2 separate regions of the Homo sapiens genome follow, and region 1 is linked to region 2. The links are contacts of gene promoters, found by promoter capture Hi-C in blood cells and fetal thymus (Javierre and others, 2016). All regions are on one chromosome and are shown on one strand. Each heading gives the region's core, a stretch centred on a gene start or on the middle of the fragment in contact. The rest is flanking DNA. Distances are from core to core; before and after follow the strand shown.

Region 1 (6,290 bases), core at 547-3,046, 210 kb after region 2:
GCAGTGACCCATGCCTATAATCCCAGCACTTCGGGAGGCTGAGGCGGGTGGATCACCTGAGGTCAGGAGTTTGAGACCAGTCTGGCCAATATGATGAAACCCCACCTCTACTAAAAACTCAAAAATTAGCGGGGCACGGTGGCAAATGCCTGTAATCCCAGCTACTCAGGAGCCTGAGGCAGGAGAATCTCTTGAACCCGGGAGGCAGGGGTTGCAGTGAGCCAAGATTGTGCCACTGCACTCCAGCCTGGGAAAGAAAGAAAGAAAAAAGAGAATTGCTTGAGTAGATCCTGAATTCCAGCAGAACAGCTGACACCAGCTAGTGTGAAGGCCCCCAGAGAGGAGCAGGATGAGCATGAGAACATAGCTTCTCCCTCCCCCGTCCCAGAACTTCACCCTGCACTCTTCAACCAGTCAACAGGCGCCACACTCCAAAACTTTTTTTGTTCGTTTGTATGTTTCAGACAGAGTTTCATTCTGTCCCCCAGGCTGGAGTGTAGCGGCATGATCTCATCTCACTGCAACCTCTGCCTCCCAGGTTCAAGCAATTCTCCTGCCTCAGCCTCCCGAGTAGCTGGGATTATAGGCACTTGCCACCATGCCCGGCTAATTTTTGTATTTTTAGTTGGTGGGGGGGAGTCTCACCATGTTGGCCAGGCTGGTCTCGAACTCCTGACCTCAGGTGATCTGTCTGCCTCAGCTTCCCAAAGTGCTGGGATTACAGGCGTGAGCCACCATCCCTGGCTTTTTTTTTTTTTTTTTTTTTTTGAGACGGAGTCTCGCTCTGTCACCCAGGCTGGAGTGCAGTGGCGCCATCTCGGCTTACTGCAACCTTTTGTCTCCCGGTTTCAAGCGACTCTCCTGTTTCAGCCTCTCAAGTAGCTGGGATTGCAGGTGCCCGCCACCACGCCCAGCTAATTTTTGTATTTTAAGTAGGGACGGGGTTTTCCCATGTTGGGCAGGCTGGTCTCCAGCTCCTGACCTCAGGTGATCCGATCCACCCACCTCGGCCTCCCAGAATGCTAGGATTACAGCCGCAGGCCACCATGCCTGGCCCTGTTCTTGTTTTTTTAGAGATGGAGTCTTGCTCTATTGCTCTGGTTGGAGTGCAGTGGTGCAATCATAGCTCACTCAGCTGTGACCTCCTGGGTTCAAGCGATCCTCCCACCTCAGCCTTTTGAGTAGCTGGGACTACAGGCGTACACCACCATGCCTGGCTAATTTTTAAATTTTCTGTAGAGATGAGGTCTGGCTATGTTGCCCAAGCCAGTCTTATACAGCTGGGCTCAAGCAATCCTCCTGCCAGGGCCTCCCAAATTGTTGGCATTACAGGAATGAGCCTGGCCTGCTTAAGCAATTCTTAAACAGAAGTATTTTGCTTCTAACGTCAGAGATGGTATCTATGTGGTGCAAATGGTCAGTGTCTAGTGCAATGTGCTTTTCTGTTACAAGGAAGCAGGTCAGAGTGCAGCCAGATTAATGCTTCATTTTAATTTTAATTTTTTATTTTTTGAGATGGAGTTTCGCTCTTTTTGCCCAGGCTGGAGTGCAGTGGTGCAGTCTCGACTCACTGCAACCTCCACCTCCCGGGTTCAAGCAATTCTCCTGCATCAGCCTCCCTAGTAGCTGGGATTACAGGCGCCCGCCACCACGCCCGGCTAATTTTTTGTCCTTTTAGTAAAGACAGGGTTTCACCATGTTGGTCAGGGTGGTCTCGAACTCCTGACCTCAGGTGATCCACCTGCCTCGGCCTCCCAAAGTGCTAAGATTACAGGCGTGAGCCACCAGGCCCAGCCTAATGCTTAATTATAACTATATGTCTGTACATAATTCTTTTTTTTTTTTTTTTTTTGAGATGGAGTCTCGCTCTGTCACCCAGGCTAGAGTGCATTGGCACAATCTCGGCTCACTGCAACCTCCACCTCCCAGGTTCAAGGAATTCTCCTGCCTCAGCCTCCTAAGTAGCTGGGACTACAGGCGCCTGCCACCACGCCTGGCTAATTTTTTTTTATTTTTAGTAGAAACGGGGTTTCACCATCTTGGCCAGGCTGGTCTCGAACTCCTGACCTTGTGATCCACCCGCCTCGGCCTCCCAAAGTGCTGGGATTACAGGCGTGAGCCACCGCTCCCGGCCAATCTGTACAGAATTCTTGTTAACCCTGTGAGGACAGCTTCACCCCCACCCTCAGGCTCCACACCAACCCCCTGTCACAGGAAGAGTGAGTTTGTGGAAGTGGCTAGGATTGATGAGGTTTGCCTCCTGCCACCTGGTAGAAAGAAGCTGATATTTGTTTTCTGTAGCTGCTGTAACAGATGACTGCAAACCAGGTGGCTTCAGACAACAGAAATGTATTTTCGCACAGTGACGGAGGCCAGAATCGAGGTGTGGGGAGGGCCACTGTGCTCCCTCTGAAGGCTCCAGGGGAGGGTCCTCCCTGCCTCTTCCAGTTTCTGGTGGCGGCCAGCAGGCTTTGGTGTGACTTGGCTTCACTCCAATTTCTGCTTCCATCACTGCTTGGCTTTCTTCCCTGTTTGTCTCTGTGTCTGTGTCCAAATTTCCCTCTCCTGATAAGAACGCCAATTATTAGATTTAGGAGCTGCCTTGAGAATCGCTTGAACCCGGGAGGCGGAGGTTGCAGTGAGCCGAGGTGGCGCCACTGCACTCCAGCCTGGGTGAGGGAGTGAGACCCTGTCTCAAAAAAAACAAAAAACAACAACAACAACAACAAAAAAACAACAGATTTAGAAGCTGTCTTAATCCAATGTGACCTCATCTTAACTAATCTTTTTTTTTTTTTTGACTCGGAGTCTTGCTCTGTCGCCAGGCTGGAGTGCAGCGATGTGATCTCGGCTCGCTGCAACCTCCGCCTCCCAGGTTCAAGCGATTCTCCTGCCTCAACCTCCCCAGTAGCTGGGACTACAGGCGCCCGCCACCACCACGCCCAACTAATTTTTGTATTTTTAGTAGAGATGGGGTTTCACTCTGTTGGCCAGGATGGTCTCCATCTGTTGCCCTTGTGGTCTGCCTGCGTTGGCCTCCCAAAGTGCTGGGACTCCAGGTGTGTGCCACCATGCCCGTCTAATTTTTGTATTTTTTTGCCGAGGGGAGTGTTGGCGTGTTGCCCAGTCTGGTCTCAAGCTCCTGGCCTCACGTGATCCACCCACCTTGGCCTCCCAAAGTGCTGGGAGTACAGGAGTGAGCCACTGCATTCGGCCATAACTAATCATATCTGCAATGACCCTATTTCCAAATAAGGTCGCATTCCCAGGTACAGGGGATGGAGGGGGCTTTTGGACTTCAACAGATATTTTTGGGGGACAAAGTTCTACCCACTACAAGGCTCAAAAAAGAAACTGTCAACCTAAATAACAAACAAGGAGAAGCTCTCTAAAACAAAAGGATATTTATTTGGAAATAGGGCTTTGCAGTGCTATAGTAAGTAAGCTATGCACATACTGAGGGAGGTAATAGAAGACAAAGATTTCTAAAGGAGAATTGAGGAAGATGACGTAACTATTTTGAGGTAATTATCCTTCGCTACAAGGATCAATAACAACGGTAGGCCAGGCACGGTGGCTGACGCGTGTAATCCCAGCACTTTGGGAGGTTGAGGTGGGCAGATCACCTGAGGCCAGGAGTTCAAGATCAGCCTGGCCAACATGGAGAAACCCCATCTCTGCTAAAAATACAAAAATTAACCGGGCATGCTGGCGCCTGCCTGTAATCCTAGCTACTTGGGAGGCTGAAGCACAAGAATCACTTGAACCCAGGAGGCGGAGGTTGCAGTGAGCTGAGATCACACCACTGCACTCCAGCCTGGACGACAGAGTGAGACCCTGTCTCAAACAAACAAACAAACAAAAAACAAGGATAAAGCTGGTCTTGTTGAAAAGATGTCCTGTAGAATAAGGTTGTGACGGGAAGTTTGATGCGGCCAGGCGTGGTGGTTTACGCCTGTAATCCCAGCACTTTGAGAGGCTGAGGCAGGCGGATCACGAGGTCAGGAGATCCAGACCATCCTGGCTAACACAGTGAAACCCCGTCTCTACTAAAAATTTAAAAAATCAGGGCTGGGCGCGGTGGCTCACACCTTTAATCACAGCACTTTGGGAGGCCGAGGTGGGCGGATCACGAGGTCAGGAGATCGAGACCATCCTGGCTAACACGGTGAAACCCTGTCTCTACTAAAAATACAAAAAAAATTAGCCGGGCGTGGTGGTGGGCGCCTGTAGTCCCAACTACTCAGGAGGCTGAGGCAGGAGAATGGCGTGAACCCAGGAGGCAGAGCTTGCAGTGAGCCGAGATCCTGCCACTGCACTCCAGCCTGGGCAACAGAGCGAGACTCCATCTCCAAAAAAAAAAAAAAAATCAGCCGGCATGGTGGCGGGTGCCTGTAGTCCCAGCTACTCGGGAGGCTGAGGCAGGAGAGTGGCAGACGGAGCTTGCAGTGAGCCAAGATTGCGCCACTGCACTCTAGCCTGGGTGACAGAGCGAGACTCCATCTCAAAAAACAAAAAGAAAAAAGGAAGTTTGATGCAAATTTTTGGGGTTTGCAGCCTTTTATTTTTTTCTTTTATTTTTTTGAGACAGGGTCTCATGCTATTGCTCAGGTTGGAGTGCAGTGGCCCCATCATGGCTCACTGTTGCCTCAACCTACGAGGCTTAAGTCATCCTCCCACCTTAGCCTTCTGAGTAGCTGGGACTACAGGCATGTGCCACCACGCCTGGCTATTTTTTATTTTTTATTGTTTTGTAGAGGCAGAGTCTGGCTGTGTTGCTCCGGCTGGCCTCAAACTCCTAGGCTCAAGTGATCCTCCTGTCTCGGCCTCCCAAAGTGCTGGGATTACAGGTGTGAGCCCCGTGCCCGGCATGCAGTCTTTTGTGATATTTTCTTGTTATCAGGCATCCATGCATGAGAACGCACTATTCAAAGCTGTCCCTGGCTCTATTTGTCACTTTGCTGTTGTTGTTGTTTTTTTGTTTTTAGACAGAGTTTCACCTTGTCACCCGGGCTGGAGTACAGTGGCGCGATCTCGGATCACTGCAACCTCTGCCTCCTGGGTTCAAGTAATTCTCATGCCTCAGTCTCCTGTGTAGCTGGAATTATAGACACCCGTCACCACGCCCAGCTGATTTTTTTTGTAGTTTAGTAGAGACTGGATTTCACCATGTTGCCCAGGCTGGTCTTGAACTCCTGAGCTCAGGCAATCTGCCAATCTCTGCCGCCCGAAGTGCTAGGATTACAGGCATGAGCCACTGCACCTGGCGTCACTTTTTTTTTTTTTTTTTGAGACGGAGTCTCGTTTCGTCGCCCCAGCTGGAATGCAGTGGCACAATCTCGGCTCACTGCAAGCTCCGCCTCCCGGGTTCACACCATTCTCCTGCCTCAGCCCCCCAGTAGCTGGGACAACAGGTGCCCGCTGCCACGCCCGGCTAATTTTTTGTATTTTTAGTAGAGATGGGGTTTCACCGTGTTAGCCAGGATGGTCTTGATCTCCTGACCTTGTGATCCGCCTGCCTCGGCCTCCCAATGTGTTGAGATTACAGGCGTGAGCCACCGCGCCCGGCCTTTTTTTTTTTTTTTTTTTTTTTTTTTAACACAAGTCACTCCATTTTGATTCTGACAACTTTCTTTTTTTTTTTTTTCTTTCATACGGAGTCTCGCTCTGTCTTCCAGGCTGGAGTGCAATGGCATGATCTCGGCTCACTGCAACCTCCGCCTGCCGGGTTCAAGCGATTCTCCTGCCTCAGCCTCGCAAGTAGCTGGGACTACGGGTGCACTTCACCACACCTGGCTAATTTTTGTATTTTTAATAGAGACGGGTTTCACCGTGTTAGGATGGTCTCGATCTCTTGACCTCATGATCCACCCGCCTCGACCTCCCAAAGTGCTGGGATGACAGGTGTGAGCCACCGCACCCAGCCTGATTCTGACGACTTTCATATGAGTAACTATAACAACTCAATGTTTTCATCAACCACTAAATCCCATTTTACATAGGAGGAAATTAAGTCCCAGAGAAGCTAAGTGACCTACTTAGGACCACACAGTTGCTAAGTAAACTAGGATTTTATCCCAGGCAGTCTTGCTCCAGGAGGTATTCCCATAACCCTTACGCCATCATAGAGAGATCCAGTTAGGATCTGCTCAGGTAGTGGCATTAGACTGGACCTCCTCATGAACCCAAGCTTGGAGGAAGGGGCATCCACATCCACTCCAAAAGTGGGTTTTGAGGGCCAGGCACGGTGGCTCACGCCTGTAATCCCAGCACTTTGGGAGGCCGAGGTG
Region 2 (4,359 bases), core at 1,860-4,359:
TGTTTTTTGAGACGGAGTCTCACTCTATCGCCCAGACTGGAGTGCAGTGGAGCAATCCCAGCTCACTGCAACCTCCACCCTCCGAGTTCAAGCGATTCTCCTGCCTCAGCCTCCCGAGTAGCTGGGATTACAGGCGCCTGCCACCGCACCCAGCTTATTTTTTGTATTTTTAGTAGAGACAGGGTTTCACCATCTTAGCCAGGCTGGTCTTGAACTCCTGACCTCATGATCCACCCACCTCGGCCCCCCAAAGTGCTGCGATTACAGGCATGAACCAATGCACCTGGCCTAACTTTCATTTAATTTCAATGAATTTTCTTTTTTTTTTTTTTTTAATTTTTTTTTAGAGACAGGGTCTCACTCTGTCACCCAGGCTGGCACGATCACCGCTCCCTGCAGCCTCGACCTCCCGGGCTCAAGTGATCCTCCCACCTCAGCCTCTCGAGTAGCTGGAACCACAGGCATGCAACAACATGCTCGGGCTAATTTTTTTAATTTTGGAGGATTTTTTTGTAGAGATGTGGTTTCGCTATGTTGCCCAGGCTGGTCTGGAACTCCTGCACTCAAGCAATCCTCCTGCCTCGGCCTCCCAAAGTGCTGGGATTACAGGCATGAGCCACCACACCCAGCAATTTCCATGAATTTTCAATAGCCGTGTGTGCCTCACAGCTGCTGTGTTGGTGGGTAAATGGCCCCCACACACCGCATTCCCCATCGTACAGTGGAGAAATAATGACTTAAAGCAGAACTTTCTGAGCCCAGGCGGCGGGTGGTGTGGATTCTGACTCTGCTCAGACACTGGACTGGACGGGACTGGCTTGGTCCTGGGAGAAGGTGGGCGAGAGCTGTCTATGAGCTGCAGGTGCTGGAGGCTTCCGGATTTACATCTGCACTGAAACTGTGGCCACCCGCCCCATGGGGCTACCGAAATATAAACAGATTCAAATTAAACACAACCTACACTTCGAAATTCAGTTATCTGCTTGCACCGTAGCCCCGTGGGGCTGGCGTCTCCCATACTGAATGGTGTGGAGCTGAAACGTCTCCACTGGAGTTTCACGGGGCAGGCAGTTGTCAGCCCCTGTGGCTGGCGGGGAGCGTGTACAATCAACCCTGTGCTTCGGCTTCAGTGATTAAACTGTTTTACCCACCGGGAAAGCCGAGGCCGTTCATGCTGAAGGGGATGTGAGGGAAGATTCCCCCAGCCCAGGAAGCCAAGGTGGTGCCTCTGCCAGCCCCAGAGAGTGGGTCCCCAAAAGATGCAGAGGCCAGAGATGGGGCATGGGCCCTGCCATTTCTAAAGGGGAAGTGAACAAGAAGAGGCGGCATTAACTGTCATTGTCACCCCCACTTCCCGCAACGCCCAGAGGTTGTCCACACACACACACACACACACACACACACACACACACTCCACCCTCACAGGGCACTGGCCCGTGGCCCTCTCTAGCAAAGACACACCCGGCTGCCCCTAGATCCACAGCCCCCCTGAGCCACGGCCCCCACGCATGCACGCACCAGGGAATAAGAGGCCGCAACATCACGTACCATGATCGAACTTCAATGTTGCCAGGGCATGCATCCCACAGTCCACCCCTTGCAGCCTGGGAGCCCTACTGAGGCCCAGAGAGGGGCCGGGACTTCCCCAGAATCACACAGAAGCGGGGTTGTGGGGAACCCACTCGCCCCCACACCAGGGTGCTCTCTGCTCCTACGGGGAGGTGGGGTGGTTGCCTCCTTGTCCAGGGTGACCATGGGAAGCCCATTTGGCGTCAGAAGCCCCGAGAGGCCACCGGGAAGACCATGGGGGCCTGTCCCGTTCCCTGCTCCCCATACAGGCGAGGCTGCGTGCACACAGCTTCCTGTACCCCAGGAGGGCCTGCCTGGCACGCACCCGGTGGCTGCACCATCCACACGCAAGACTGCAACTTCAGATGCTCCGCACGCTGGAGATGCTGGACAGGGGCTCCCGCATCCGAAAGCTGAGCGAGCGGGAGCCGCGAAAGCTGTCCCTTGGCCTCAGAGAGCTGTCGGTGGTGGAAGCTCCGGAGTGAGCCTCGACGGCCCGGGCCAGGCAGTCCCCGGGCCCTCGCATGCCCAGCCGGAGACACCCGCAGCAGAGGAAGCTGAGCACGGCTCTGCACACCTCCCTGCTGCGGAAGGAGTAGATGATGGGGTTGACCGCCGAGTTGAGGACGGCCAGGGCCAGGATCCAGTCCATGCCCCGCAGGTACTCCTGGGCCCAGAGGTTGGAGCCAAAGACGTCGGCCAGCAGCAGCCCGAAGAGTGGGCCCCAGCACACCAGGAAGGCCAGCAGGATCATCAGCACCGTCTTCAGCAGGCGGCGGGCCTTGCGGCGGGCCGCTGGGCGTGGGGCCTTCTGCCCGCTGGCCTGCACCAGGCGGAAGATGGCCCCATAGAGGCCCATGATGGTGGCCAGGACGCCGGCGAAGATCACCAGGCAGAAGAGGATGTAGCGCTTGGAGTAGAGGGGCAGAAGGCTGGAGCAGCGGTCAAAGGCGCACAGGCAGTTCCAGCCCAGCAAAGGCAGCATCCCCAGCAGCGCGGCCAGCAGCCAGCAGAGGCCGATGAAGCCGTAGACGCGGCTGGTCTTGGTGGCCCCGCTCTCGGCCACCGGCCGCACCATGGTGGCAAAGCGCTCCCCTGCAGTGAAGAGCAGGCTGAAGGTGGAGGCGGCCAGGGCGGTGAAGAGCAGGCCCTCCCGTAGGAACCACTGGGCGGGCGCCAGACGGAAGGTGCGGGCCCCCGACAGCAGCACGTTGGCCAGGTAGGCCGCGCCCGTGAGCAGGTCACTCAGCGTGATGTTCACCAGGCAATAGTAGACCCAGCGTCGCGACCGCATGTGGCTGGTGATGGCCGCCAGCACCAGCAAGTTCTCCAGCACCACCAGGCAGCTGGCGGCCACCGACAGCCCCCGCAGGGCCCCCAGGCCGCCATCCTCCGGCCCCCCGCGCCCGGCCAGCCGGCCCGAGTGGTTGTAGTGCAGAACAATGAGCCGGCTGTGCCCGCCGGCCGCCAGCTGTTGGCAGGACTCGGGGGCCACCGGGGTCCCCGTGGCGTTCATGGCCTCCCCCGGGGGCTGACTGAGGCCCGACGCAGGGTGGAGCCACCCGCCTTGCTGGTCTTGGTTTCCTGTTATTTGAAATTTCCTGTTATGTTCAAGGTGCCCTCCAGGGTGGAGGTAAGGCCGAGGACAGGGAGGGGCACCCCAACGGTCGGCCCCCACCCGGGCTCCTGGAGCCAACGCGCTGGGGCTGCCCTGGCTGTGAGGACCCCCACCCCTGCCCTGGCTGCCTTCTTCCTGTCCTCGAAAGCCGGAGACCCGCAGGGAGCCCCGGAGCCGTCAGTCACGGAGGGGAAATGAGTCCCCACTCGGGATGGGCCACCCCTTTCCAGCCGGACGACTCCTCCCCACCAGCCCTGATCACCCCCGAAGCACCCGTCGGCTCCACTGAGGTCTCCCCACATGCTCCACCGGCGCTCAGCACACAGCAGGTGCCTAATAAATGTCAAGTGCCTGCATGCCCTTGAGCACTGACTCATCCGACTTGATCCCCGAAACAGGGCCTGATGCGTTACAGAAGAGGAAACTGAGGCCCAGAGAGCCCGGTGCGTTGCAGAAGGGGAAACTGAGGCCCAGAGAGCCCGATGCGTTGCAGAAGGGGAAACTGAGGCCCAGAGAGCCCGATGCGTTGCAGAAGGGGAAACTGAGGCCCAGAGAGCCCGAGGCGTTGCAGAAGGGGAAACTGAGGCCCAGAGAGCCCGAGGCGTTGCAGAAGGGGAAACTGAGGCCCAGAGAGCCCGATGCGTTGCAGAAGGGGAAACTGAGGCCCAGAGAGCCCGATGCGTTGCAGAAGGGGAAACTGAGGCCCAGAGAGCCCGATGCGTTGCAGAAGGGGAAACTGAGGCCCAGAGAGCCCGAGGCGTTGCAGAAGGGGAAACTGAGGCCCAGAGAGCCCGAGGCGTTGCAGAAGGGGAAACTGAGGCCCAGAGAGCCCGATGCGTTGCAGAAGGGGAAACTGAGGCCCAGAGAGCCCGAGGCGTTGCAGAAGGGGAAACTGAGGCCCAGAGAGCCCGATGCGTTGCAGAAGGGGAAACTGAGGCCCAGAGAGCCCGATGCGTTGCAGAAGGGGAAACTGAGGCCCAGAGAGCCCGATGCGTTGCAGAAGGGGAAACTGAGGCCCAGAGAGCCTGATGCGTTACAGAAGGGAAAACTGAGGCCCACAAAGGCGGCCTGAGGCCAACTTTCTGCCCATGGGAGGACACACAGGTCCAGGGAGAGAGACCCCCAGGGACAAGCTGGTAGGGTCTCGGGGCCAGGCGCCCATTTTGGGATTC

The links. Contacts are between HindIII fragments. The CHiCAGO score rates a contact against its expected background, and 5 or more counts as called.
Region 1: a contact is called between a fragment that was not itself captured here and the fragment with the promoter of S1PR4 in region 2, in 3 of 17 cell types (naive CD4 T cells, activated CD4 T cells and monocytes). The highest score is 5.5, in naive CD4 T cells.

What each region holds. Positions count from the first base shown.
Region 1 is chr19:2,965,406-2,971,695 of GRCh38, reverse strand. No RefSeq gene overlaps it. Among named protein-coding and RNA genes, the nearest start is that of TLE6, 9.0 kb to the left of the region's middle. The HindIII fragment of the contact is 8,792 bases long and covers 1-6,192 here.
Region 2 is chr19:3,177,519-3,181,877 of GRCh38, reverse strand. S1PR4 (sphingosine-1-phosphate receptor 4) reads right to left here and starts at 3,109. Exons shown (of 1, transcript NM_003775.4): 1 at 1,546-3,109. The coding sequence starts at 3,085. The coding sequence ends at 1,931. RefSeq lists enhancers at 862-911, 1,522-1,751, 1,792-1,971, 2,012-2,661, 4,245-4,359 and a silencer at 2,892-3,441. The HindIII fragment of the contact is 14,219 bases long and covers 1-4,359 here.